Linked DNA regions of Homo sapiens: all the other regions are linked to region 4. Evidence: promoter capture Hi-C in 16 types of primary human blood cells and fetal thymus (Javierre and others, 2016). All regions are on one chromosome and are shown on one strand. Each heading gives the region's core, a stretch centred on a gene start or on the middle of the fragment in contact. The rest is flanking DNA. Distances are from core to core; before and after follow the strand shown.

Region 1 (4,676 bases), core at 452-2,951, 92 kb after region 4:
TCCCAGCACTTTGGGAGGCCGAGACGGGTGGATCACGAGGTCAGGAGATCGAGACCATCCTGGCTAACACGGTGAAACCCCGTCTCTACTAAAAATACAAAAATTAGCCGGGCATGGTGGCACGCGCCTGTAGTCCCAGCTACACGGGAGGCTGAGGCAGGAGAATGGCGTGAACCCAGGAGGCGGAGCTTGCAGTGAGTCGAGATCGCGCCACTGCACTCCAGCCTGGGCGACAGAGCGAAACTCCGTCTCAAAAAAAAAAAAAAAAAATCAACTCATAACTTAGAAACCGATGTTATTCATAGATTCCAGACATTGTATAGAAGAACATTTGGAAACTCACTGCCTTGTTCTGTTTCTCTCTGACCACCAGTGCATGCAGCCCCTGTCATGTACCGCCTGTTTGCTCAAATCAATCATGACCCTTTCATGTGAAATCTTTAGTGTTGTGAGCCCTTAAAAGGGACAGAAATTGTGCATTCAAGGAGCTTGGATTTTAAGGCAGCAGCTTGCTGATGCCACCAGCTGAAAAAAGCCCTTCCTTCTCCAACTCGGTGTCTGAGAAGTTTTGTCTGCAGCTCATCCTGCTACAGAATGAACTCCTTGTAATTCTACAAGATATGCCATGGGCCTTTTCACAGGGGACACAGGCTTCTTAAAACAACCCGGCTTCCTCACCCTATGTCCTTTATTTACAAAGCTGTGCTCCTATTCATGAGCATGGAATGTTTTTCCATTTGTTTGTGACATCTCTTATTTCTTTCAGGGGTATCTTGTAATTCTCATTATATATATCTTTTGCTTCCTTGGTTAGCTGTATTTTTAGGTATTTTAGTCTTCTTGTGGCAATTGTGAATGGGATTGCATTCCTGATTTGGCTCTTGGCTTAATGTTATTAACGCCACATTTTTTAAATAGACAAAAATATGAGATTAAAAATGTTGAATTTTACTAACAATAAAAGTTGTTCAAAGGAAAACTATAAGGTTCTTGTTTCAACTCTGTCATAGGAAGAACAGGACAGTGAGCTGGCACAGAGTTAGGGAAACTGACTGTGTCTCATATTGGCTAGTGAGAGTGATCTGTTGGAATTGTATATCAAAATTTTAATGTACATACATTTTGTCTAGCAATTCTACTATTGGGTATTTATATAGTACATATAAATATAAATGTATATGTTTAGTAAATATATACTTATAGTTAGTAAATATATTTTATATCTATTTAGTAAATATACTAAATGTCAGGCCTCTGAGCCCAAGCTAAGCCATCATATCCCCTGTGACCTGCATGTACATACGTCCAGATGGCCTGAAGCAAGTGAAGAATCACAAAAGAAGTGAAAATGGCCTGTTCCTGCCTTAACTGATGACATTACCTTGTGAAATTCCTTCTCCTGGCTCATCCTGGCTCAAAAGCTCCCCCACTAAGCAACTTGTGACACCCACCTCTGCCCGCCAGAGAACAACCCCCTTTGACTGTAATTTTCCTTTACCAACCCAAATCCTGTAAAATGGTCCCAACCCTATCTCCCTTCACTGACTGTCTTTTCGGACTCAGCCAGCCTGCACCCAGGTGATTAAAAAGCTTTATTGCTCACACAAAGCCTGTTTGGTGGTCTCTTCACACAGACACGAGTGAAACTAAATATATATATTTTATTTTTATATTTGGTATATAAATATAAATATATCTGGTATATATTTGGTATATAAATATATATATATCTGTCACTTACCGATGAGGTAAATTTTGGGACATACTTTCAAAGGAATATTCTACAGTCACTAAAATGAAAAAGGAAGCTTTATTTGTACTACTATGAGAAAGTATCCAAGATATAGCATTAGAAAAAAAAAAGATGCAGAAAGTATGCTGCTACCACTTAATTTAGGAACTAATGAATATGTGTGTACATTATTAGCTCCCTCTGGAAAAATAAAAAATATACTAGTATCCTGGTCATACCAGGAATGGAACTGAATAGTTAAGGTGAGAAATGAGAGGGTAACTCTACATCATATATGTCTTCAACATTTTATGTAAATTCATCATGTATTCAAAAATGGATAAATACAATTATTCAAATTAAAAATTGAAATCATAATACATGGATGGCAGAGGTCCCACAACAGGATGAAAGTAATTAATATTACTAGAAATAGCATAAGTCTGCTCAACAGGAAACATCTTCTCTTTGGAACAGAGAACTAGAAAGGGCACAAAACATGCATCCTAATTTTGTTTTTATTATGGCCTTTCAACAAGATTTCAAAGTTTATCCCCAAATATATGGTCAAATACAACGTTCCCTGGGTTGTCAACTAGTATTCTCTTGACTGAGGGCCCTTTTGCAGGGGACAAAGACTTCTTAAAACAACCCTGCTTCCTCACCTTCTATCCTTTGTCTACCAAATCCTGCTCATCCTTAAGATGTCCTGGTTCCTGACTTTCTGAGGCTTGGTGAGATGCCCCTTTTGGGTTGCCATGGCACCAACTTGTTACTCCTACCATTGAACTTTTTATATAACTGTGAAATTAAAAATGCTTATTTACTTCTCTCTACCACCTCTTGATCTCAGGCGCTTCATTTTCCTCATCAACTTATCTTTAGTTCCAACTACAAAAGCCAGCACAGAGGCTCAAGTTTGGGTTGATTAAATACATATTCTACCCTCCAGTAGGTCCCCAATTTACCATATCTTTACTGTATTCCCAATCTCTAGAGCTCTCAACATAAAATATACAATCTTAGGAAGTCATGCAGAAAAGACTCACTGAGTCAGAAAGAATATGCCCAGTTGTCTTAATCTGCCACCCTGTTCTCTCTGAGGGACTGGACACTCCATTGACTTTATGTTCCTCAAGCTTATTGTTACCAGTGGAGGGTGTCCAGGTTCTTGGTATCTTGAACAAAGGATTGGACAAAACACACAAAGAAAGGAAAGAATGAAGCAACAAAAGCAGATATTTATTGAAAATGGAAGTACACTCCACAGTGTGGGAGTGGGCCCAAGCATAGGGGCTCAAGGGTCCTGTTACAGAATTTTGGGGGATTTAAATACCCTCTAGAGGTTTCCATTGGTTACTTTGTGTATGCCCTATGTAAATGGAGATAATATTTCCCGGCATAGCTGAAGTGTGAATAGGCCTTATGTTCTATGCCTCCAGATCCTATTTTCCTGCCTCATTTCCTCCCTGAGAGATGTCATCCCCATAAATCTTTATGGGAGGTGGAGTGACTAATGGTCTTTCTTCTGTAACTGCCTCATGCTGGCTTGAAGCAAAGTCCCTACCTATTGGGGATCACGGAACTGTCACCCTGCTCTGTCTAGTGGAGGCAGAGTAGCTTCTTGATGGCCAGGGGTGGTGTCTTCAACTGGAACTGGCTGGAACATTTGTCACATGATCTTCTGAAGCTTGATGGTCTCTAGGTGAGAGAAAGTGAATTTGGTTAAAAGATTTAACTGGAACTTCAGGAGGTGGATACCTATGCTGTTAAGAATGCTCGTTACAGACATTTGCAAGAGGAAAAACAAAACCTGGTTATTCAATTAATTTTTTTGTTCTACTTAGATTAGTAGCTTTATACAAGGAAATTTGGTTATTTATGTGGTCTACTATAACTTAATATAATAACTATAATTATAATTGACAGCATGTACTTAGACATTAAAAATTTTAGAAATCTCATACAATTTTGGGACATATATTAGCATTATTCACAAAAATATAACCTAAAGATTGAACAACATTTTGGCAATACTATGTACCTAAACATGTTAAATAATCCTGTTTACCTCTTCTCTGGGTGATTCAGGGGCCCCCTGATCCTTCCAAAAAGCCAGGCATCGGGAAAGACAATTTTGAAACTGAAGTTTGATTTTGGGAAGGCTGTTAAATATGTTCGGAGTTTAAAACACTTGATACTATGAAATAGAATTCCAGATTACCATGAATGATGTATTTTGCCAAAAGGTTGACTCAGAAATATTAAAGAAGCAAAAGCCTTTTATAACCCTTTACAAATTTTGCCGAAGAGCAAATTAGTGCCTTAAGAAAACCTTATTGTACTTTTAATGCTCAGTTTACAGAAAAACAATATAATACCTTTCTGAATTTAGTCAATATGTTCACACAGAGAATTTCTTTTGCAAGATTTTTAGAAACCTTCCACCACTTATTTGAACTTTTAGCTTTATCTTAATTTAAAACAATTGTTTAACCCTAGGCAATAATTTACTTTTCCATACCTTCTTATAACGTTTTACAAAAAAAAAAAAAACACATTCTATTCTTCTTATACAATTTGCATGTAAAACTATTTTAGTAGTCTCAATTACATGTAATAATGGTGACTGTTAGTCATTTTAATTTTAATTTTAATGTCTTTTCTTATTCATGTTTTATAAAATAATTTTTTGAGAGAGACTGTCAGTCTGTCACCCAGGCTGAAGTGCAGTGGTGCTATCTCGGCTCACTGCAACCTCTGCCTCCCAGGTTCAAGCGATTCTCCTGCTTCAGCTTCCCTAGTAGCTGGGAGTACAGGCATGTACCACCACACCTGGCTAATTTTTTTGTATTTTTGCAGAGTCGGGGTTTCACTGTGTTGACCAGGCTGGTCTCAAGCTCCTGACCTCAAGTGATCCACCCACCTCAGTCTCCCAAAGTGC
Region 2 (4,771 bases), core at 1,536-4,035, 71 kb before region 4:
GAGATCCATCCACATACCTGTTCCCCCAATTTTTTTTTATCATCAATTTTCCAGTCATGCTTCTTCCAAGTCCCTGACCATCTAGCCAAGCCACTGGCTATAGCTCATCAATCAGTATATAATCACACATCTGGCAATTTCTCCTTCTATGCAAAGTGCACACCAGTTGCACTGCTTAATTTTCTGCCCATTGGGAAGATTTTCCTTCACCAATGTCCTTCAGGGACAGAAACCGGCTGCAGTGCTACAGAGGGGCTGTAGTGCTGCAGCTGTCCACTTTCTAGTGGTGCCTGCATATCGTGCAGAATCTGTAAATCAGGCCCTTGTCTTCTGTTCTTCTGTCAACTGACCATAGGGAACTCACCAGGAGGCCATCAGTGCAGGCTGGGGGAGAGAAGGCAGGGTGGCAGGAGTGGTGACCGTGGGCATTTGAACCTCTTCCTCTTGTAACTTACTTATGCCTTCAGGACCTGCTCGAGCCTGATCACTAATATTCCACTTCCATTTGATGACGGAATGCTGCTGTGCATGACCCACTTTATGACTAGATGGGTCAGAAAGCACCCAGTTCATGATATGCAGTTCAGGTCGCATGGTGACTTGATGACCCATAGTCCAATGTTCAGTTTCCACCAAAGCCCAGTAACAGGCCAAGAGCTGCCTCTCAGAAGGAGAGTAGTTATCTGCAAAAGATGGCAGGGCCTTGCTCCAAAATCCCAGAGGCCTCCACTGTGATTCACCTATGAGGACCTGACAAAGGCTTCAAACAGCATCCCTATCTGCCACTGATACCTCTAGCACTATGCTGGGTCATATGGCTTAAGTGGCAGAGCAGCTTGCACAGCAGCATGGACCAGTTGCCAAGCCTTCTCCTGTTCTGGTCCTCACTCAAAACTGGCAGCCTTTCAGGTAACTTGATAAATGGGGCAGAGTAATACACCCAAATGAGAAATGTGTTGCCTCCAAAATCCAAATAGGCCCACTAAGCGTTACATCTCTTTCTTGGTTGTAGGAGGGGCCAAATGCAGAAACTTATCATTCACCTTGGAAGAAATATCTCAACAGACTTCAGTAAGTTCAGTGTGATTGCTACTTCTTGCTCACTGGATCCAATCAGCATAATGTCATCAGTGTAATGGACCAGTGTCATATCTTGTAGAAGACAAAAGCAATCAAAATCACTCCAAACAAGATTATGACACAAAGCCAGAGAGTTGATATACTGCTGAGGTAGGACAGTAAAGGTATATTGCTGGCCTTGTCAACTGAAGGCAAATTGCTTCTGGTGGGCCTTATGGACAGGAATGGAGAAAAAGGCATTTGCCAAATCAATGGTTACATACCAGGTACCAGGAGATGTGTTAATTTGCTCAAACAATGAAACCACATCTGGTACAGCAGCTGCAATTGGAGTCACCACTTGGTTAAGCTTACAATAATCCAGTGTCATTCTCCAAGATCCATCTGTCTTCTGCACAGGCCAAGTGGAGAGTTGAATGGGGATGTGGTGGGAATCACCACCCCTGCATTTTTCAAGATCTTGTTGTGGCACTAATCTCTGCCAGGGATGCAATATTCTTTTTGATTTACTATTTTTCTAGGTAGAGGCAGCTCTAATGGCTTCCATTTGGCCTTTCACACCATAATTAGCCCTCACTCTACCATTCATGGAGCCAATGTGGTGGTTTTGCTATCTGCTAAGTATGTCTTTGCCAATTATGCATGCTGAAACTGGGGAAATGACCACAGGATGAGTCCAGGGACACACCAGACGCACTGTAGGTTGGACCTGAGCTAAAACTTCATTAATTACCTGACCTCCATAGGCTCCTACTTTAAGAGGAAGAACACAATGATGTTTTGGGTCCCTTGCAATCAATGTCAGCTCAGAGCCAGTGTCCGGTAGTGAAATGGGAGAGTCCCGTGACCCCCATCACAGGACGTGTGACAGGGTATGTCTCATCTTTTCAGCCATCGTATGTGCTCAATCCCTTTACAGGAACATGAGCAGGCAGTCAGGCAGGTGCAGGAGCTGGGATATGCACTTTAGGGCTCCGGCCCCATGGTAGCATCTAGAGGTGGGTGCCTGTGACTCCTAAAGCCCAAATGGGTGTGTGTTACAGTACACTTTTTTTAGCTTTGCCATCTGCAGATGGCTTATGTTTTAACCAGCTTAGTGCCCCCTTGGTACTCAGGTCCTTGTCCATTGTCCAGGAAGAATCAGTTCACACACAGACTTGAGGATGGTGAATGCGGGGGTTTTATTGAGTGGTAGAGGTGGCTCTCAGTGGGATGAATGGGGAGCTGGAAAGGGGATGGAGTGGGAAGATAATCTTCTTCTGGAGTTTGCCTGTCTAGTGGCCAATCTCTCCAACCATTTCCAACTGAACTCTCGATATTCAGATGCTCCTTCTCCTCTCTGCTCTGCTGTTCTGCCATTCTGCTCTCCTGTATGTCTCCTTGTGGAACTGGGGGTTTGAGGTTTATATGGGTACAAAATAGGGGTGTGTGGTGGGCCAAAAGACAACTTTCTGTTGCAAAAACAGAATGCCTATTCTCATTTAGGGCCATAGTTTTTCAGGCTTGAGGGCAGGGTCTTTCCTGGGGAACCACCCTCTTCTAACCAGTATTTCCCTGTTTCCTGTCTGTATCATTTCTCCCCTCTGAAGAGGCACATCTAACTGCCATTAGAATATGGACAATGACCAATCCTAGCTACTTCCTGCTAATAAGGGGCATTGTTTCAGGGAAAACAGCAGTCAGATTTCTCCCAGAGGTCTATCTAGGGGTCCCAAGCAGAAGGGAGCCGTTCTTCTGGGGTTCCATTGCCTGACAATTTGGAGTTTGATAGCCTCTAGGTGAGAGGAAAAAAAAGTAAGTTTTTATAAGGTTAAGTATGCATGGGTTAAACATGTGTATTATACAAGGAAGGAATCTACTGCCAAATATTACAGCAATAAGAAGTGAAATATACTAATCATTCTGAAAAAAATATTGTGCCTCACTGTATAGAACAGAACAAAGGTAAGAACAGCAAGCATGGGAAAGACTATAAAGAGGATATCCATGGAAGGTTAATTATTAACACTTATCTTTTGTGATTTTTAGCTTGAGGTCCCCAATCTCTTCACATTGGTACTTTGAGTGCTCTTTTGGGTTGACAGAGTCACCTCAGGTGACTCCATTGGCTTTCCAGGCCATTAATCTAGTATAATGAATCCAAGACTCTATTCCAGTGACCTTCACTGCCATAGGAGTAGAAAGAAGTACAGTGAAAGGTCTCTCCCAACCTGGACCTATAGAGGGAGAGAGGGAAGGAAGTACCTTTACTAGCACTAGGACCCCTGGGTTTAATAGAAGTGGCCTTGGTTCATGGGATTGGGCCTCTGACAGTTGTTTCAGTTGCTGTTGGAAATGGGCCAAAAAGGTTATGTGTTTAATTAAATCAGAGGTTTCTTGGTCCAGCAAGAAATCATTGGTGAGAAAAGGGTGTCCATACATCATTTTGAAGGGACACAAACCTATCTTTGAAGGAGTGTTTCTAATACACAGTAGGGCTACGGGGAGAAGGGTAATCCAGGGGAGGTGAGTCTCCTAAGATAGTTTCCTGAGATGCCTTTGATAATATCATTTGTCTTTTCTACCTTTCCTGAGGATTGTGGTTTCCAGACACAATGAAGATGGTACTGTGTGCCTAGTGACTTTGAGAACACTTGGGTGACAGCCACCTTGAGCAAGGGACCATTATTGCTCTGGAGGTAGTTAGGGAGTCCAAGGCAAGGAATTATCTCATTGATTAGTACTTTTGTCACCTTAGAGGCTTTGTCTGTTTGGCATGGAAATGTTTCTACCCAGTTAGTGAATTATCTATCCATACTAGGAGGTACTGGATGCCCTTTGCTTTTGGCATATGAGTGAAATCCATTTGCCAGTCTTCCCCTGGGTAGCCTCCTATACTTTGGGTTCCTGAGGGAAGAAGCTGTCAATTAAGAGGATTGTTTCTAAGGCAGGTCTCACAAGCATTAACAACCTGTTTAACCATTTCTATCAGTTTTTTACCTGAGAACAATCTCTGGGCCAGTTGATAGATTTTATCCTTTTAAGAACTTTCCACTGGTTGGCAGTCAGTAGATGAAGCTTGCCATCCTCCAGTTGTAGCCATGCTGAGGATTGAAAGATGTATCCCTGAGAGGTGGCCCCTTCTATTTTCACAAAAGAATATTGAGGTTTTATTTCTCTGATGGGTCCTTCCCAGATTAGTGGGGATTCAAGTGGGTCAGAGATCTGGGACCCCCTTGCTGCTGATTTAGCTGCTCAGCCCACCAGCCTATTTCTGTCAGTTATTTTATCTATCCCTCTTTGGTGGCCTTTACAATGTATTACTGCCACTTTCCATGGGAGGAAAATGGAGGATAATAGTCTATTTATCTCCTGATGGTATTTAATAGGAGACCCATTAGCTGTGAGGAAGATCCTCTCTTTCCAGATAGTGCCATGGATATGTAGGACTAGGAAAGTGTACTTAGAATCAGTATAAATGTTGGCTGTTTTTCCTTTGCTTAATTCAAATGCCCTTGTGAGGGTGATTAGTTTGGCTAGTTAAGCTCTTGTACCTGAGAAGAGAGGTGTGCTCTCAACAATATCATTCAGAGTAACTATTGCATACCTTGCTTTATGGGTTCCTTGTTCTACCAAAGAGCTTCCATCTGCAAAGGGAATCCAGCCTGGGTTCTCTAAGGGGGTTTCCTTGAGGTCTTCTCTGGCTGCATAG
Region 3 (5,133 bases), core at 2,046-4,545, 91 kb before region 4:
ATTTTTTTTAAAAAGCCCAAAACTTCAAAACTGAAAACAGGTGTTAGCTAGGATGTTGAGGATTTGGAACCTGTGTGCACTGTTCATGGAATGCAAACTGGTACTGTCACTATGAAAACAGTATGATGGTCCCTTGGAAAACCAAACATACAATTAACATTTGATCAAGCTATTCTACTTCTACATATACACTCCAAAAAATTAAAGGCAGGGACTCACACAGATATTTGTACATCAATGTTTATGGCAGCATTATGCACAATAGCCAAAAGATGAAAACAGCTCAAATGACTCTAAACAGATGAATAGATGAACAAAATGTTGTATATACCTACAATCAGCTATTATTCAGCCATAAAAATGTAGGAAATTATGACACATGCTACAACATGGATCACCTTGAAGACATTATGCCAAGTGAAATATGCCAGGCGCAAAAGAACAAATATTGTATGAGGTACTAGAATAATCAGATACATTGAGACAGAAAGTAGAAGTGTAGCTACCATGGGCTGGGGGAGGAGGGAATGCAGAATCATTGTTTAAAGGTAGAGAGTCTCAGTTTACAATGATGAAGTTCTGGAGATAGCTGCACAACTAATGTCACCGAAGTATTTTCTTAATTAGTAAAATAGTAATTTTATTATGTATATTTTACCAACAAAAAAGAGAGTAAAAGACAAAAGCCTGGATAATCGGGCAACCTATTCCTCTGTGTTATGCTACTGCAACCACTTATCTGTCAAAATAACCTACCTCAAAGACAGTGGTTATGCTATAAGGTTTTTGATCGACAACCTGCAGTAACTTTTTAATGATCATCATATACTGAAACTTGTTCTCTAATGCATCAGTGTGACCTTATATGTTTGTCTTTTATCTACAGGTTTGGAAGAGTGATGGGAATAGAAGGGAGAAGGGAAAGGATCCACTATGGGATGAGAAAACTCTAGAGAATACAGGCTATCTTTCCAAAAGGGAAGCAGGAGAATGTCCAGAATCTAAAGAATTCAAGTACAGGCTGAAATACGTAGCCTAGAAGGGTCAGGTTCTCTGCAATTTACTCCCACAGACAAGAATAAGAAAAAGAATAAGAATAACAATACATATAATATTGCATATTATTTATGGAGATAAATTATAGATATCTAGAGAGAGAGAGAAATTATGTACATACATATTAATAGATAAGTTAGAGAGATTTCTTTTTGAGAGATAAAGTCAATGTCACTTTTGGGTGAATCGAGGTGAAAGGCATATGGGATTTAATTGTAATATTTTTAGAGGTGAAGTTTAATTCCATAAATTTAGTATTGAAAGTACAATTATTCTGTAGGTCTCCTGGCACATTTTTATTGCCATTATATTAAAATGGTTTTCTATGATACCTGTATTTCCTTATAATTAGAAAAATGTAAACATAATATTGTCTTCAAATGCCTCAAATACTCAGTTTAGAATTGATATGTCAGACACTCAAGATGCATCTAATGCCACCAAAAATACCAGCTCTATCATTCACTACTTATGTGGCCTTGACCAAGGAGGTCAAGCTAGCTGAGCCTGTTAATTATAGGGGTCTGTGAGTTAAATCATACATCCAACCTGGAGGGTGTTTTGATAATAAAACGAGACATTATAAGTTTATATCTTTGCATAGCATGCACCACACAATAGGATTTCAGTAAATGTTGAATTAAATGGAGGTTACTACAATAATTACAATAACAATTGGTCCATTAGATTATATATTTCAACAAAATATACAAACTATAAGTTACTAAGAAACAAAAACTACAAATAAATTTTTCACGGAAGCAAAACTGTAAAGTTCAAGCACGCTGTTGCTGTACAACCTGCTCTTGTCTGATTCTTCACTGAGGGGAGTAAGGAAAATGGAGATCAAACACGAGGTCCTGATTTCCACAGTGAAATGCATTGTAATGTGATGTGTAACGTGTTCATCACATTACAGTGACTGCAACTGTACAGTCCCTTCTTTAAAGTGAACAATAAAGGCAGCTCTAGGAAGATGTGGCTGCTCCTGCAAACAACTTTATATAAACCAGGTCTCTGGTTTCTTAGCTGTGTGGGAACCACAGACCTTTTAACTTCTACTAAATGAAATACAGCTGTTCAATCCTATTCAGGACTGGTTTTCACACTCTGATGTACATAAGAATCACCTGATCACTCTGATGATAGTTTCTTTTGCTGTGCAGAAGCTCTTTAATTAGATCCCATTCTCAGCAAACTAACACAGGAACAGAAAACCAAAAACTGCGTGTTCTAACTGGTAAGTGGGAGTTGAACAATGAGAACATGTGGACACGGGCGGCGGGGGGTTGGCGCTGGGGGTGGGGGTGGGAAACTCACACACTGGGGCCTGTCAGTGGGTGGAGGGCAAGGGGAGGGAGAGCATTAGGACAAATACCTAATGCATGCGGGGCTTAAAACCTAGATGACGGATTGATAGGTGCAGCAAACCACCATGGGACATGGTGGTTTTTAAAAAAATCTTTTTTATTTTAAACATAGTGTCTATTCTTCATCTTTTTTTTTTTTAAAGAATCAACTGAGAGGATTGTTCAAACCCAGATTCCCAGGCCTAAGTATCCATCTGTTTAGCAAGAGCTACAAGAGACTCTGATGTTCCTATGGGAAACTAACACCCCCCTCCTCCCCCACCCCCTCCCCACACACACATACACACACACACACACACACGCACACACAGAGTTTGGACTATATAATTATTTTTAAGTAATAAAGACCAGTGATGTGGGGCCTAAGTTTATTTCTACATAGAGATTTATAGAGCTCTTATTCTGAAGCTTTCCTAAGTGTGACCACTAGAAAGATAGACAAGAAACTCTCCCTTCCGGTATAATTGCCTGGAAGCTCCTTGTTCTCTGCATTCTGGGGCTTGCCGCAGGACCTGAGAGAGATAGCCAGGCAGGCGCCCACCAGGGCTCATTCCAGGCCACTCACTGCTGTCCTGAGTTGATGATCAGGGAACAGCACATCCAGGGGGACGCGGCGTGCCCGGCTGTCACTGGTTCAAGTGGAGAAGCTGAGCTTCCCCAGAACTAAAGCCAGCCACAGACTCCTGCAGGCCAGGCAGCAGGCACCCTGCCCTTCCTGCCCATTCCTCAGTTACCACTCTGAATCAGAAACCAAGTCTTGAGTTAGGAACTAAGTTGCATTTAAAAGAAAGTGAACATACCTGCTCTATAGCACCGCAGGTCCAAGAACAGTTTTCAGTTGCCTCACTCACCTCTTGTTTTCTTTCCTCCTTTTACTTTTCTGTTCTTTCCTTTATAAAAGGAAAAAAAAGCTGAGTAAGCTAGTTGTTTCCACAAATGGGATGGTGCAGTAAAAATAAACTTGGAAGTAAAATTAATCCATGCTTTTAATAAAGTGTTAGCAGAGCCATGCCTGAATCATCCGATGTGAGTTTGAGGATGGGTGTTGGGTGCAGGGGTGGGAGGAGGTCAGAAAAAGCCACAGATACTGCACAGTCACACCTTAGCAAGCACAATCCTGCCAGCTTTCTTTTGTCTTTCCCATCTTAGAAGGCTTCACAGGCTTTCTTCTTGATACCGTTCCCAGGTGGCTTTAGTTTCCTAGGCACACAAGAAAAACAGGAAATCTACAGTAGTCACATAAGCAAAGCCTTAGAAACCAAGAATATTTTAAGCATTTTTCTCTTAGTGGGAATTCTTGAGTTCTGGGGTCTTTTGTTAGTGAAGAACTTTTGATATTTTAAATGTGTTCACACATGCACACACACACACAGAAGAGAGAGAGAGAAAGAGAGAGAGCTAAAGATATTACTGGTTTAAAAAAAGAATGAACCATGTCTTTTACAGCAACATGGATGGAACTGGAGTTCATTATCTTAGGTGAAACAACTCAGAAACCGAAAGTCAAATACCACATTCTTACTCATAAGTGGAAGCTAAAAAATCTGCATACATGGACATAGAAGGTGGAATGTGCAGTGCATAACAGTGTACAAGCTCCTATGAGAATCTAATGCTGCTGCTGATCTGACAGGAGGCAGGTCTCAGGCCTTAGTGCTCTCTCCCTACTCACCTCCTGTGTGGCCCAGTTTCTAACAGACCATGCTCTGGGGGTTTGGGACCCTTGATGTGGACTATTTATCCAACAACCCACAGTTTCCATTGGTTGAGTCTTATCCCCAGGGACTTTAACTATTTTGAATTCACAAGCTGCCCTTGGGCAAAATAGACACCCTTTCACAGCTTGGAGAAACATCTGAGTGAGAAAAGGAGAAAGACTCTCTACAGAGGACATAGCAGCATGCTGGGACTGTCTACCATGGCTGCACTGCTAAATGGATTTGAGAACAGAAGCAAGTGGCAGAATGAGCAGACATGAGTTTTGGCAATAACTTAGGCTGAGGATTTGGGGAGTGTGGTAGACTAATCTGAATACTCTATTCAGACAAAGACTTGTGTTAAAAATGTAAAATTCTGGGCCAGGTGCGGTGGCTCACTCCTGTAATCCCAGCACTTTGGGAGGCCGAGGCGGGCGGATCACGAGGTCAGGAGATCAAGACCATCCTGGCTAACAGGGGGAAACCCTGTCTCTCTCTACTAGAAATACAAAAAAATTAGCCGGGTGTGGTGGCGGGCACCTGTAGTCCCAGCTCCTCAGGAGACTGAGGCAGGAGAATGGTGTGAACCTGGGAGGCAGAGCTTGCAGTGAGCCGAGATTGTGCCACTGCACTCCAGCCTGGGCGACAGAGCGAGACTCCATCTCAAAAAAAAAGGAAAATTCTGGATTCAAAAATGTTTAATATTTTCAAAAGCAATATTAAAAATTGACTAATTTGTCATGAATGATCTTAAAGACCAAATTCCAAGGGAAGGTGAACGCCCAAAGAGTTAAGTGGAGTATTGAAGCTGTTTTTTTTCTAATAGCATTTGCCAACCAAGGGAATGTGACCTTCAGTTTGGAAGGCATTTATGAAGAGGCCAAAAGTCAAAGACCAGAGCTTGTCTAAAGTAAAGAGTCTAGTAGGAGGCCTCCTTTAGATGTTATAAGACTAAACCAGTGATTCTTAATACTTGCTGCACATAAACATCAATTGAGGTTCTCCTTAAA
Region 4 (5,001 bases), core at 520-3,019:
ATGGCTGGCACTGAAAGGATTCTCTGCAGTTTCTAGGAAACATGCAGTTTCAAAGAAGTCAGGTCAAATACATCCAGCCTATCTACACTAGGTAACAGTTGGGCAATTCCCTTTGTCATCTGGCTTAGTCACTGAATTTCCTTTTTGGTTTCTATTTCCTACAGAGAACTTTCAAAAATCCCCCTTTCTGTTATTCCATATTTTGTATTCAAATTGTCTCCTTTTTCGAGCAGGGAAAATGGGGTGGGAAGAACAAAAACCCCAGGACTGAGTGAAGAAAATAAATGAGAAATCACCACAGTGAAAGTAAAAGACGAGAGTTCGAACTCAGCAAGTTCTCATCGAAGCAGCTTTCTTTTTTCTTTTCTTTTCTTTTTTTTTTTTTTTTTGAGACAGAGTCTCGCTCTGTCACCCAGGCTGAAGTGCAGTGGTGCAGTCTCGGCTCACTGCAAGCTCCGCCTCCCAGGTTCAAGCCATTCTCCTGCCTCAGCCTCCCGAGTAGCTGGGACCACAGGCGCCCGCCACCATGCCCAGGTAATTTTTTGTATATTTTTAGTAGAGACGGGGTTTCATCGTGTTAGCCAGGATGGTCTAGATCTCCTGACCTCGTCATCCACCCGCCTCGGCCACCCAACATGCTGGGATTACAGGCGTGAGCCACCGTGCCCAGTCCCTCATGGAAGCAGTTTTCTTACTAGCTCTAAAATACCTCTTCTCCCGATTTTATAATCAAGGTAATGAGAGGTGACGGCGTGCTGGCAGCCCTTGCAGCCCTCCCTCGCTCTCGGTGCCTCCTCTGCCTGGGCACCCACTCTGGCGGCACTTGAGGAGCCCTTCAGCCCTCCGCTGCACTGTGGGAGCCCCTTCCTGGGCTGGCCGAGGCCGGAGCTGGCTCCCTCAGCTTGCTGGGAGGTGTGGAGGGAGAGGCAGGGGTGGGAACTGGGGCTGCGCCCGGTGCTTGAGGGCCAGCGCGAGTTCTGGGTGGGCTTGGGCTCTGAGGGACCTGCACTCGGAGCGGCCCCAGGCAGTGAGGGGCTTAGCACCTGGGCCAGCAGCTGCTGTGCTCCACTTCTTGCAGGGCCTTAGCTGCCTCCCGGTGGGGCAGGGCTGGGGACCTGCAGCCTGCCATGCCTGAGCCTCCTCCCCTCTCCCGCTCCCCACCTCACCCCGCCATGGGTTCCTGTGCTGCCTGAGCCTCCCCAACCTGTGCTGACCCCTGCTCCACAGCACCCTGTCCCATCCATGGCCCAAGGACCGAGGAGTGCCAGTGCATGGAGCAGGACTGGCAGGCAGCTCCACCTGCCGCCCGGTGCAAGATCCACTGGGTGAAGCCAGCTGGGCTCTTGAGTCTAGTGGGAACTTGGAGAATCTTTATGTCTAGCTAAGGGATTGTAAATACACCAATCAGCACTCTGTATCTATTTAATCTGGTGGGGACTTGGAGAATCTTTATGTCTAGCTAAGGGATTGTAAATGCACCAATCAGCACTCTGTATCTACCTCAAGGTTTGTAAATGCACCAATCAGCACTCTGTATCTAGCTCAAGGTTTGTAAATAGGCCAATCCACACTCTGTATCTAGCTAATCTAGTGGGGACATGAAGAACTTTTGTGTCCAGCTCAGGGATTGTAAACACACCAATCAGCACCCTGTCAAAACAGACCAATCAGCTCTCTGTAAAATGGACCAATCGGCTCTCTGTAAAATGGACCCATCAGCAGGATGTGGGTGGGGCCAGATAAGAGAAGTAGCCAGCAGTGGCAACCCACTGAGGTCACCCTCCAGGCTGTGGAACCTTTGTTCTTTCACTCTTTGCAATAAATCTTGCTGCTGCTCACTCTTTGGGTCCACACTGCCTTTATGAGCTGTAACACTCACTGGGAATGTCTGCAGCTTCACTCCTGAAGCCAGCGAGACCACGAACCCACCAGGAGGAACAAACAACTCCAGACGCGCAGCCTTAAGAGCTGTAACACTCACCGCGAAGGTCTGCAGCTTCACTCCTGAGCCAGCCAGACCACGAACCCACCAGAAGGAAGAAACTCCAAACACATCCGAACATCAGAAGGAGCAAACTCCTGACACGCCACCTTTAAGAACCGTGACACTCAACGCTAGGGTCCGCGGCTTCATTCTTGAAGTCAGTGAGACCAAGAACCCACCAATTCCGGACACGGTAAGACTGGGGCAAGAGGTGGAAGAGATTTGCAAGATTCATTTGGTTTTAGAAACATTCTACAAAGGATAGGATGCAGCTTATCCTGATGTGGTATATCAGACCTCAGTAAAGAATAAATTGTATTCTTATCAGACAGGCAGCAGAATTCATCAAGTACCAGCTGTGTCTGCCTCTTGCTGAATTAGACATCAATGTGTGTGGTGACTAAACTAAGAGTTTGAAATGCCTTCAAATTATTTTTCTTCCTTTGCAATTTTATGACTTATTCAGGATCATAATTTCCACTTAAGTTACCTTCGTCCTTCATAAAATCTGATTAAACTGACTCGAACTTCAGCATGAAAGTTTCAAAAACTATGATAGCTATTATTTTCATGAGAAAGAACAATGAATATGATGCAATGTAAGTAGCTTGCAAACATTAAGGACAAGAAAAAAATGTTGCCCAGAGAGAAGTTTCATGAAAACAGTGATGTATTTTTAGTCATAGTCTTGTACTTTGTTTGAAAGTAGATTTCTTCCTTTAGCAATAGCCCTGACTTAATTCATGTTGGTTTCTTGGCATCTACTCACTTAACTAACCCCTTTTGTGTTGGGTTCTGCTTCTACTACTCTATTGCCTTTACTATTATGAATCACCTAATTTAACAGTTGCCCAACTGGATCCCTCAATACTGTCTGGCAACTGTTCACTCGTTGAAATTCTCTCCTTTGAATTTCTTACCATGACACATACTTCAAGCATTTTGTACTAGTTTGATTTCCATTTATATCCTTAATAAGAGCCTTTTCCTTTTCCTTGAAATTCAAACCAGAAACTATGCAAAATAAGCAAAAGCAAGCAATAACAACTACATATACAAATGCAGGCGCAAAACCCAAACTAGAATCATATGGCTGAAAACAGATGTTTTCTTTCAGAAATCCTTCCACTACCACTTCTGAGCATTTTCTCTTAGTATTTTTTTTTGGGCATTTTCCTTCTTTGCACTTTTTAAAATCTCCTGCAGCTCGCTCACTCTCTTTCATAAGCCAGCAGTTATACTGATGTTAATAAATAGTTGTTTATTTACTTTTGCTTTTTTAGAAAACAAGCTGAAAGAATTGAGTGAAATGCCAGAGAGATACAGATAGCCAGTTGTAGGGCTGGGGTTGGAAATCAAGTCTAATTTAAGGCAAGGGCAAAATGTGCATTTTGTGTGTGTATTTTGAACCATTCTTGCATTGTTTTTATTTGCAAAGGTTATAGGGCTCAAGCAGTTAGGGAGAATGCATCCCAGAACACTAAGTTATGAATAACAGAGCAACAGTTATGTTTGTGGCTTGAACACATTAAATCTGCAATAATGTTTTAGAAATTTGGCTTTACTAAAAGCATTAAAGATGCTATCCAGATGACATTGGGGACAACATGTCAAATACTATTATTAATGTAGATATACAATGCTATTGTCATTCATAAGAGAGTCTGAACACTCAGACACATTCATTCCCTCTTCCTTAGTGACATCATCCCAAATCATAAGATCTTGTAAGCTCTCAATATCTGCTTATAGATTTGGCTTATGTATCTTTTGTTTTTCTAGCTAATTGTTGTAGATCATCACTTCAAGGTGCCCATATCTTTCTAGTGGAAAAATTATTCTGGCCTCCGCTGCATACAAATCAGGCAACCAGAATTCTACATATATAAGGTACTAATACTACATTGAAAATAGATTAGAATGAGAAGAGACCTGCCATTTGAGTCTCTAAATTTGTTGCAAAATTGCCTCTTTCTGGGTCAGGCTTGCACTAGGCATTTCCTGACTCCCATGTCCTAGTGCTACACCATTTGCAAATGGATATCCTATTTTCTGCTGCCAAGCAGTTTCTGTTTTAATTTATGTCAACATAATGATTTCCAGGGCATTAGCTATGAGGAAGCAGGGAGAATGGGTCTTCATAATTGTAAAATGACAGTTTTTGAAATTTGCTAGTAAAGAGATGGAGAATCCAAACCTTTTCATTGTAAGATTTTAGTGAAAGAACTCGTCAAGCGGATAGTGAAGTTTTAGCATCCTTAGTAAATAACCACCTTTAAAATGGAAGAAAACTATCCTTTATGATAAGGCAAAGTAGAAAAGCATATTTTTATGGCATTTGCTTTTTCTCATATAGCTCAAACATTTTTTTTAACCAGAGACTCTTTAGGTTATAGGGATTGATGCTCAGAAGTTAGAAAAAAATAGGTTAAGTATTATTAAAGGAAGTTGTTTTACTCATTCAGTCAATCATAAAATAATCATGCTTTGAAGTTTTGGTTTAATAAAGCACATTAGTAACTATGTAAAAAATTTCAAGTATATCACTAAGAAGCAAACAGCTATGATTTGTTAGATAATGCTGCATAATGACTTGGTAGTATTTAATGTAATGCAGTTTGACTGGACATAGATCTAACTGAAAAAAATGAAGTTGACACAAAGTAAAAGGAACAGTGTAATATATTAATAAAGAACATCATAAAGAATTAATATAGGAACCCAGGGAGGTAAAAACTAAAAAACATAACTAAGCCAAAAACCAATGGAATAAGAGTTAGATTCAAACTAGTAGGTTAGACGCAGGAAATGGATTTTCGTATGCCTATCAAATATTTAAGAACCAGTAGAATGGCCTATAGTAGACATATAAAGGGCCTAGGACTTACTTTTGTTTTAAAATAAAGTCTCTCTATTTTACAGGACTCTTTTTATTTTAAAACTTTTTTTTTCCAGAAACTTAGGCAGTGCTGGGGAGTAGTATGTCCCCAGGTTCAGTAAGCAAAATGACTTCCTTT
Region 5 (4,728 bases), core at 1,394-3,893, 110 kb after region 4:
TCACTTCTGGCTTTTTTTTTTTTTCTTTTTTTTTGAGACGGAGTCTCACTCTGTCACCAGGCTGGAGTGCAGTGGCACAATCTCAGCTCACTGCAATCTCTCTGCCTCCTGGTTTCAAGCGACTCCCCTACCTCAGCCTCCCAAGTAGCTGGGACTACAGGCGTGCACGACCATGCCTGGCTAATTTTTTGTATTTTAGTAGAGACAGGATTTCACCATGTTGGCCAGGATGGTCTCTATCTTCTGACTTTGTGATTCACCTGCCTCGGCCTCCCAAAGTGTTGGGATTACAGGTGTGAGCCACCACACCCAGCCCACTTCTGACTTCTTAATATCATCACCTTGGGGTTTGGTTTCAGACTTCACTGAAGTTCCAACGTATGAAAGGAGGATTGGAGGGACTAACTTCAGACCATAGCAACAGGTTAATAGAGTTTACATTAATTCTGTAATATAACTTATTTGAGCCCATATAGATATGAAGTGAATAAGGGACCCAAGTACCTCCTGAGAAAGTCATTTATACAAATAAAGATTTGATTGATTGTCTTTGCTGAAATGGAAGCAACCCGTTTCCCCTGCCAGGAACTTAACGTTCCTATACATTTAACTGGTATAGGCCTTGTCTGCCTGGATTCTGCTGTCACTATATGTTGTTTCTCCTCTTCCCTTGAAGGCTTCCCTCTGGGCTGCACAGTGAAGTCTGAAACCAAAGGCATCTGGATGTGGTGTGTGCCCCACCCCTCCAAGCCAAACCACACCCTGATCCTTCTGGACACGGAGGGCCTGGGTGATATGGAAAAGGTAAGAAAGAGACATAGAGAAATCTTCTTTACCTTTGATTCTCTATTTATGTTTTTATGCATAGTATCAATCCAACTTCTCTGGCCTATTCCTGAATCACAAATCTGATTATGGGAAACAAAGCTAAATTTCATTTTCTGGAACTTACTTTCTTGGTAAGCACAAATATTTTGGACTATTGGTGATACATCTTCTTATTTTTAACAGTTGGATGAATTATAAAATTTAATAAATACTGCATGGCAGAAGTCTAGGGCTGTGTGCTATATTAATAAAGAATCCTGAATTTCAAAGCTCTACGCTAATCAATGAACCAGGTAAATGCTCAGAGCCTAGTGGCGAAGACAACATTGTGACCATTTAGAGTGCTCAGATGCTGAAAGTGAGGGCCTAACCTAATGATACAATTTAGGAGAAAGCTTCCTGGAAGAAGCTGTAACCTGTGGGATTAATGGGTGCTACTAGTTAAGGTGTGTGGGGTTTGTAGGCTTGAAGGTAGAATCAGGAAAATAGAGTTTCACTGAAATAACCTGTTTTTAAATGTCTAGAAAAGCACTAGCTAGCCGGGCACGGTGGCTCACACCTGTAATCCCAACACTTTGCAAGGCCGAGGCGGGTGGACCATCTGAGGTCAGAAGTCCGAGACCAGCCTAGCCAACATGGTGAAACCCCATCTCTACTGAAAATGCAAAAATTAGCCCAGCGCAGAGGCGGGCACCTGTAATCCCAGCTATTCAGGAGGCTGAGGCAGGAGTATCGCTTGGACCCGGGAAGTGGAGGTTGCACTGAACCGAGATCATGCCACTGCACTCCAGCCTGAGTGACAGAGTGAGACTCCATCTCAAAAACAAAACAAACAAACAAACAAAAAACAAAAAAAAAAGAAAGAAAAAGAAAAGAAAACCACCAGCTATACCGGGAACATTTATAAAATTTTTACCCAATTTACTGGGCTAGGCAATGTAGTCATCACTGACTTCTAGAATAGTGTGAGCTAGCCCCACACAAAAATTTGCAAATTGGCTAATTCTAGATAATTTTGCTTTATAGTATTAAGTGCAGTCTTTTCCTTTATTTATATTAGTCTGAGTATAAATTGAAAATAGGATTAGTCAGAAACGACAGGGGGATGGTTACCACTGACCCCACATAAATACAATATTAAGAAAACCTCCATGGACATAAACTAGACAATCTACACAAAATGGACAAATTTGTTGACACATATACCCTCTCAAGACTTAACTGGGAAGAAATTGAATCCCTGAACAGACAAATGATGAGCTCTGAAATTGAGGCAGTAATAAATAGCCCACCTACCAAAAAAAAAAAAAGCCCAGAAACAGATGGATTCATAGCTGAATTTACCAGATGTACAAAGAAAAGCTGGTAGCATTCCTACTGAAAATATTCCAAAAAATTGAGGAGGAGGCACTCCTCCCTAACTCATTCTATGGGGCCAGCATCATCCTGATACCAAAACCTGGAAGAGATACAACAACAAAAGAGAAAATTTCAGGCCAATATCCTTGATAACATCAATGCAAAAATCCTCAACAAAATACAGGCAAACTAAATCCAGCAACACATCAAAAAGCTTATCCACCATGATCAAGTAGGCTTTATCCCTGGAATGCAAGAATGGATCAAGATATGCAAATCAATAAATGTGATTCATCCCATAAACAGAAATAAAGACAAAAACCACACAATTATCTCAATAGATGCAGAAAATGTTTTCAATAAAATTCAAAGTCCATTCATGGTAAAAACTCTCAATAAACTAGGTATTGAAGGAACATAGCTCAAAATGATAAGAGCCATATATGACAAACCCACTGTCAACATCATACTAAATGGGCAAAAGCTGGAAGCATTCCTCTTGAAAACCGGCACAAGACAAGGATGCCCTCTCTCACCACTCCTGTTCAACATAGTATTGGAAGCCTTGGCCAGGACAATCAGGCAAGAGAAAGCAATAAAGGGCATCCAAACAGGAAAAGAGGAAGTCAAACTCTTGCTGTTTGTCAATGACATGATTATATGTCTAGAAAACCCCCCAGTCTCAGCCCAAAAGCTTCTTAAGCTGATAAACAACTTCAGCAAAGTCTCAGGATACAAAATCGATATGCAAAAATCACTAACATTCCTATACACCAACCACAGTCAAGCTGAAAGCCAAATCAGGAACAAACTCCCATTCATAATTGCTGCTTAGGAATACAGCTAACTAGGGAGGTAAAAGACCTCTCCAAGGAGAACTACAAACCACTGCTCCAAGAAATCAGAGATGACACAAATAAATGGAAAAACATTCCTTCCTCATGGAGAGACAGAATCAATATTGTTAAAATTACCTTACTGCCCAAAGCAATTTATAGATTCAATGCTATTCCTATTAAACTACCATTGAGATTCTTCACAGAATTAGAAAAAAACTGTTTTTAAAAAATTCATATGGGACAGAAAAAGAGCTCAGGCAAAAAATAGCCAACGCAATTCTAAGCAAAAAGAACAAAGCTGGATGCTACTCGACATCAAACTATACTACAGGGCTACAGTAACCAAAATACATGGAACTGGTACAAAAACAGACACATAGACCAATGGAACAGAACAGATAACCCAGAATTTAAGACTGCACAACTACAACTATCTGATCTTTGACAAACCTGAAAAAAAAAAAAAGCAATGGGGAAAAGATTCCCTATTCAATAAATGGTGCTGGGATAACAGGCTAGCCATATGCAGAAGATTGAAATTGGACCCTTTACTTAGACCATATACAAAAGTTAACTCAAGATGGATTAAAGACTTAAATATACAACCCAAAACTATAAAAACCCTGGAAAACCACCCTGGCCATATCATTCAGGACATAGGCATGGGCAAAGATGTCACGATGAAGACACCAAAAAAGCTATAGTAACAAAAGCAAAAATTGACAAATGGGAACTAACTAAAGAGCTTCTGCACAGCAAAAGAAACCATCAACAGAGTAAACAAACAACCTAAAGAATGGGAGAAAATATTTGCAAACTCTGCAGCTGACAAAGGACTAATATCCAGCATCTATAAGGAACGTAAACAAATTCACACACACAAAAAAATACATTAAAAAGTGGGCAAAAGACATGAACAGACACTTTTCAAAAGAAGACATACATGCAGCCAACAATCATATGGAAAAAAAAAAGCTTAACATCACTGACCATTAGAGAAATGCAAATCAAAACCACAATACTATCATGATCACACCAGTCAGAATGGCTATTATTAAAAAGTCAAAAAATAACAGATGCTGGTTAGGTTGTAGAGAAATAGGAACACTTATCCATTGTTGGTGGGAGTGTAAATTAGTTAAACCATTGTGGGAGACAGTGTGGCAACTACTCAAAGACCTAAAGACAGAACTACCATTTGACCCAGCAATGCCATTACTGGGTATGTACCCAAAGGACTATAAATTGTTCTATTATAAAGATACGTGTACGTGAATATTCATTATGGCACAATAGCAAAGACATGGCATCAATTTAAAGGCCCATAAATGATAGACTAGATAAAGAAAATGTGGTACATATACACTATGGAATACTATGCAGCCATAAAAGAAGAACAAGATCATTTGCAGGGTATGGATGGAGCTGGAGGTCATTATCCTTAGCAAATGGATGCAGGAACAGGAAACCAAATACCACATGTTCTCACTTATAAGTGGGAGCTAAATGATGAGAACACATGGACACATAGAGGGAAACAACACACATTGGAGCCTATCTGAGGGTGGATAATGGGAGGAGGGAAAAGATCAAGAAAAAAAACTAATGCGTACTTGGCTAAATACCTGGGAGATGAAATAATATATGCAACGAACCCCCATGACACAAGTCTACCTATGTAACAAATCCCTGTTGTGCAGTA
Region 6 (4,832 bases), core at 551-3,050, 76 kb after region 4:
ATACCTAAGCTAAGGGTGGAAGAGGGACAAACAAACCTGAGTTTCAGGAGTCTGGTGTGGAGGAACCAGCACTTTCAAGCTCCTTTAGTTTCCTGTCTTGATAAACAGGAAAATCCCCAACAGTCAACTCCCCACAAAGTGCATGTCCTTTCAATTTCGGTTCTCACAGACTCTTACTTGGATGTCTGTAAATCCGGCTGGACTTTCAGCTTCTAAGAACAGTCCGTTTCTCGAGGATCCAGGCGCAGGAGGACAGAGCAATGGGTGAGAGAACTCTTCACGCTGCAGTGCCCACACCAGGTAAGTTTGCTCTTAAGCTTTACCTTTCAAGTATATTTGGGTTATAACAAACAACAACAAATTCCCAAGCGCAGACTGCACACGGGGAGGGTTGGAGACTTCACACTGGCGGGTGACAAAGGCAGTGGAGGAACCTCGCGGGGAAGTCTGATGCTGCTTGAACCCCTGAGTGCTTTGCTCCGTGTGGCCCAGCGTCTCTAGACGGTCCACAGGCGGCGACCAGAGGCGCACCGGTGTCTCCAGGATGCGCTGCTCCTCCTCGGGCTTCCTCCCAGAGCTGTGGCATTTTCTCCTGCGAAATACCATCATCTAGTATACATATACACATTTTTTGCTTGTTTGTTTTATTAATTTTCTGTCCCCCACTAGAATATGTGATACCCTACCTTGTTTTAACCTGAGTTGACTCTCCCTTAGCTGAAAGAGCCAGACAGTCTGCATCTCGGCTCCTTCACTTGCAGCCCCTTACCCACCCGCTTCCTCAGGGACTTAACTTGTGCAAGCTGACTCCCAGCACATCCAAGAATGCAATTAACTGATAAGGTACTGTGGCAAGCCATACCCGCAGTTCCCAGGAATTCGCCCGGTTAACAGCACCCAGAGCCCCCCGCGTTTGTGTCTGGTTGATAAAGCCCAAAGCCCCGCTTCTATCACCTTGTGATAGAATTAAAGCCCCTGCACCTAGTACTGTTTACTTTCCTGTAACCATTTATCCTTTTAACTTTTTGCCTACTTTACTTCTGTAGGATTGTTTTAACTAGACCCCTCCCCCCAACCTCTCCTTTCTAAACCAAAGTATAGAAGAAAATCTAGCCCCTTCTTCGGGCCGAGAGAATTTTGAGCACTAGCCGTCTCTCGGTCGCCGGCTAATAAAGGACTCCTGAATTCGTCTCAGAGTGTGGCGTTTCTCTGTAACTCGCTGGGTTACAACAAATAGAGCTCCAAGAGGCAGAAGTTTGTATCAATTATGTTCCTTGCTTGTTGCTGAGAATCTAGAACGGTGTTAATTAGCACATGGTAGGTACGCAATACTCTTTATTAAATTAATGAGAGAGCAAATTCTTCTGGAATGCCTGGAGCCTTTTCTAACCACTCCTCATCTCCTTTTTGTAACATCCTGCCCCTATTTATTCCAGGAGTGGAATTATTCTGCCATCAGTGCCTTGATTTTCTAATTCTGTTTATTTTATGCATCACCTTGACAAGGCATTTTTAGCGTTCTTGTAAGAATCATAAATAATGTACATAACAGATCTGTACTAGTCTTTGACATGCTAAACTAAATATTTTTCCATTTGAAATGTACAAATTTTATATACATAGAAATTTTATATACCATTAAACGTAGAAATATATTTATATACCATTAAAATGTAGAAATTTTATATACCATTCCACAAGCAAAAAGCTAATATGTATGTGCCTTAGGTAGCCCTTAGGGATGACTTCAAGATCTTGTATTCTACTGAGTATTTTTTTCTGGGTTACAGGTTATCCAGAATCTGAATCCATCATGATGGCCCCCATTTGTCTAGTGGAAAACCAGGAAGAGCAGCTGACAGTGAATTCAAAGGCATTAGAGATTCTTGACAAGATTTCTCAGCCCGTGGTGGTGGTGGCCATTGTAGGGCTATACCGCACAGGAAAATCCTATCTCATGAATCGTCTTGCAGGAAAGCGCAATGGTGAGTGTGGTCCTAGGACAGGAGCCATTTACTTGGAACCAGTGATAACACAGCTGATCACACCCCCTCTAGGGTCATCCTAAAGAAGGGCATGACTTCTCCCAATGAAGAAAACTTCTAATTCTCACCACTAAATTTACAATCTCAAATATATATCACTCTTTAGTCCAATAGTAAAGAATCATCTCAACCCTATCGAAAGATCCGTTCCATGGGTCTTCTTCATCCCATCTATGCTCACCTCTTCAGGGGCTCAGCCCCAGCAATTATTCCCTTTCTTTCTCATTCATCACTTTTGTGTAGGATACCTGGTCACTTCAAATAGCACACAAATATAGTTTAATAGATCCTGTTTTAAAAAATAAATATGAAGAAGGACAGGCATTATAATTCTTGTGTATCCTCTATTTAAATTGGGCTACCATTTCTAATTTTTTGCTTCATTTCATGGCAAAACTCTGATAAATTATATTCCCTTCTAGTTAGTCTTTCTAATATGTGAACTATGACACATAAAGAAGAGTATGTACAACATACCTTTACAGTGAAGTTAATAAAGTGAATACATGAGAAATCACTATCCAGATCAAGAAATAAAACATTACCAAACCTAAACATCCAAAAATCATACCCTGTCATACCTTCACTAGAACTCACCAGTGTTTTTGTTTTCAGGGCACACTTCTTTGACTCTTGGTTTTTAAAAATGGTTCTACATAATATATATGCATTCTAAAACATAGTTTAGGTTGGTCTGCTTTTAAACTTTACATAAAGGAAATTATATTGTGTGTATTTTTGGATGTCTTGCTTCTTTTGCTCAATAAGAAGTTTATAAGTTTTCTCTAGTTACTATGTGTACCCATTATTTATACCCTCAGACAGTATGCCACTACCTAAGGACAGTACATTTATTTATTGTTGAAAATTGGTATTTTTCCAGTTTTTATCTTTAATGAATAAGGCTGTCATTAATACTCTTATTATTTATATCCTGGTGCACATGTACAAAATCTTCCTTTGTGTAATATTCTCAGAAGTGGGATTTCTGAATCAGAGAGTACATAAAATTTCTAGATAAAGTCCAATAGCTTTTCAAAATTCAAATGCAATTTACATGCTTATTAGCAGTGACTGAGAATTTTACATCCTGCGAAAAATTCAGTAACATAAAGCCTTTTAACTTGTGCTGCCCTGTAGAATGTATTGTTGCATGCCATTTATTTCACTATGAGTAAGTTTAAGTACCTTTTCACATATCAATTGCCATTTTCATTTCTTATTTTGTGAAAGCTTTTTTTTTAAATTATTTTTTCCTACCAGGTTTCTCTTTTGGTTCTTACTGACTTTTAAGACAATCTACCTATGGCTCTGTTAGGTGCTTCTGTTTTTAAAGAAAGACCATGCAGCCATTTCTTCCCCCTAATGTCCTACTTCCTCTCTGGCTCAGCAGCTCGGCACCATTAGGGACTGAACCGCTGTCTACTAAACAAGTTTAAGAAAGAAAACAAGTTTGAGAAAATTCTTAATACATATAAAGGTCAGATTAGTTGTCCTGCCTGAGATGGAAACAACCCTTTTCCCCTGTCAGCCACTTAAACATTCCTACAAGTTTAACCGGTGTAATCCTGGGACATCCTGGTCTATCCACTGTTACTGTTTGTTATTTTTCCTCTTCCCTGCAGGCTTCCCTCTGGGCTCCACGGTGCAGTCTGAAACTAAGGGCATCTGGATGTGGTGTGTGCCCCACCTCTCTAAGCCAAACCACACCCTGGTCCTTCTGGACACCGAGGGCCTGGGCGATGTAGAAAAGGTAAGGCAGAGAAACTTCACCGCTCATGGTTGACCTCTCATCTTTTAATTTTTTCAGCTCCCTTCAACTTCTGTACATATCTCTGTAAACTCAAATCTAATTATGAATAATGAGGCTAAATTCTGTTTCCTCAGACTTCCTTATTAATTTCAAGTATTGAGGCATATTTAAGAGTAGATCTTCTTATTTTTAACACTGGAGTGAATGATATAATTTAATAAATATGTATTGAAGAGATGAATTCCAGGGCTCTGTACTGAGTACTACAGATAAAACAGTAAACAAGGTAAAGGCCAAGAGCCTAGTTGTGAAGACAAGAAATATGGGGTATGATAAGTACAGGGTTTCACAGATGCAAAAAGTGAGAAGCTAGTTCAGTCATTCGACTTAGAGAAGGCTTGTTGGAGAAAGTTGTAACCCATGGGAACAATGGGATCTACTATTTAAGGCGTGTGGGGTTGGAGGAGGGGACCATGAAAAAATAGGGTTTTAGTGAAGGAATCTATTTCAGTAGTTTTCAGAAAAGCATTAATTTTATCACTAACATTTTGGTTCAACTCTCTGAGCTTTGGAGATTAATTCTCCACTGACTTCTTTAATAGCATGAATTAGACCCACAAAGAATATTGTAAGTGAGATAACTTTAGGTATTTTGTCTTAAAGTGTTAGGTGCGATCAGTCCATTCTTCTTATTTGCATTAGTCTTATGTCTGAATTGAAAGTAGCAGCAGTAGATCCTTGGCTTCCATTATTGAAAAAAGGGAGTTGAGGGAAGGAAGCACCAACTTAGCAATTCTGAACTTTAAATTTCAGTATTAAAGGTCTGAATTATTCTCTTAGTGTAATATCAAAGTGAAACATTTATTCTTAATATGTTGTAGTTTTCATAAACTTCTTTGTGTCTAATTACGTTTGTCAAGCGATCAAAACATATCAAAACATAAACTGATGGCAGCAGCAGAACTACTAGCTGACCTTAGAACTTGTAATGTGATTTGGGGACCATCTAAATTTTTTTAAAAACCCTTTCATGT

What was found. The method cuts DNA at HindIII sites, captures the fragments that hold promoters and counts their contacts. A CHiCAGO score of 5 or more calls a contact.
Region 1: a contact is called between a fragment that was not itself captured here and the fragment with the promoter of GBP5 in region 4, in 4 of 17 cell types (total CD8 T cells, non-activated CD4 T cells, activated CD4 T cells and 1 more). The highest score is 7.4, in total CD8 T cells.
Region 2: a contact is called between a fragment that was not itself captured here and the fragment with the promoter of GBP5 in region 4, in 7 of 17 cell types (activated CD4 T cells, total CD8 T cells, non-activated CD4 T cells and 4 more). The highest score is 10.9, in activated CD4 T cells.
Region 3: the fragment with the promoter of GBP6 here is called in contact with the fragment with the promoter of GBP5 in region 4 in 8 of 17 cell types (activated CD4 T cells, total CD8 T cells, naive CD8 T cells and 5 more); the score reaches 15.1 in activated CD4 T cells.
Region 5: a fragment that was not itself captured here is called in contact with the fragment with the promoter of GBP5 in region 4 in 1 of 17 cell types (total CD8 T cells); the score reaches 8.5 in total CD8 T cells.
Region 6: a fragment that was not itself captured here is called in contact with the fragment with the promoter of GBP5 in region 4 in 8 of 17 cell types (activated CD4 T cells, total CD8 T cells, non-activated CD4 T cells and 5 more); the score reaches 29.9 in activated CD4 T cells.

The regions. Positions count from the first base shown.
Region 1 is chr1:89,178,076-89,182,751 of GRCh38, reverse strand. It overlaps GBP4 (guanylate binding protein 4), which reads left to right. Exons shown (of 11, transcript NM_052941.5): 11 at 1-1,608. It overlaps LOC105378842 (a long non-coding RNA gene), which reads right to left. Exons shown (of 4, transcript XR_947579.3): 4 at 2,954-3,433. Among named protein-coding and RNA genes, the nearest start is that of GBP7, 4.4 kb to the right of the region's middle. The HindIII fragment of the contact is 218 bases long and covers 1,593-1,810 here.
Region 2 is chr1:89,342,179-89,346,949 of GRCh38, reverse strand. No RefSeq gene overlaps it. Among named protein-coding and RNA genes, the nearest start is that of GBP6, 19 kb to the left of the region's middle. The HindIII fragment of the contact is 2,708 bases long and covers 1,432-4,139 here.
Region 3 is chr1:89,362,221-89,367,353 of GRCh38, reverse strand. It overlaps GBP6 (guanylate binding protein family member 6), which reads right to left and starts at 3,295. Exons shown (of 11, transcript NM_198460.3): 1 at 3,227-3,295. The HindIII fragment of the contact is 2,752 bases long and covers 2,837-5,133 here.
Region 4 is chr1:89,269,628-89,274,628 of GRCh38, reverse strand. It overlaps GBP5 (guanylate binding protein 5), which reads left to right and starts at 1,769. Exons shown (of 12, transcript NM_052942.5): 1 at 1,769-2,177; 2 at 3,767-3,874. It also overlaps the pseudogene LOC100421401. The HindIII fragment of the contact is 6,725 bases long and covers 1-5,001 here.
Region 5 is chr1:89,160,807-89,165,534 of GRCh38, reverse strand. It overlaps GBP7 (guanylate binding protein 7), which reads left to right. Exons shown (of 11, transcript NM_207398.3): 3 at 677-804. All of the region lies in intron 3 of LOC105378842 (a long non-coding RNA gene), which reads right to left. Among named protein-coding and RNA genes, the nearest start is that of GBP7, 13 kb to the left of the region's middle. The HindIII fragment of the contact is 480 bases long and covers 2,404-2,883 here.
Region 6 is chr1:89,194,263-89,199,094 of GRCh38, reverse strand. GBP4 (guanylate binding protein 4) reads left to right here and starts at 153. Exons shown (of 11, transcript NM_052941.5): 1 at 153-300; 2 at 1,791-1,985; 3 at 3,671-3,798. The coding sequence starts at 261. It overlaps LOC107985076 (a long non-coding RNA gene), which reads right to left and starts at 748. Exons shown (of 3, transcript XR_002958332.2): 1 at 687-748; 2 at 37-592. RefSeq lists a silencer at 55-349. The HindIII fragment of the contact is 2,961 bases long and covers 320-3,280 here.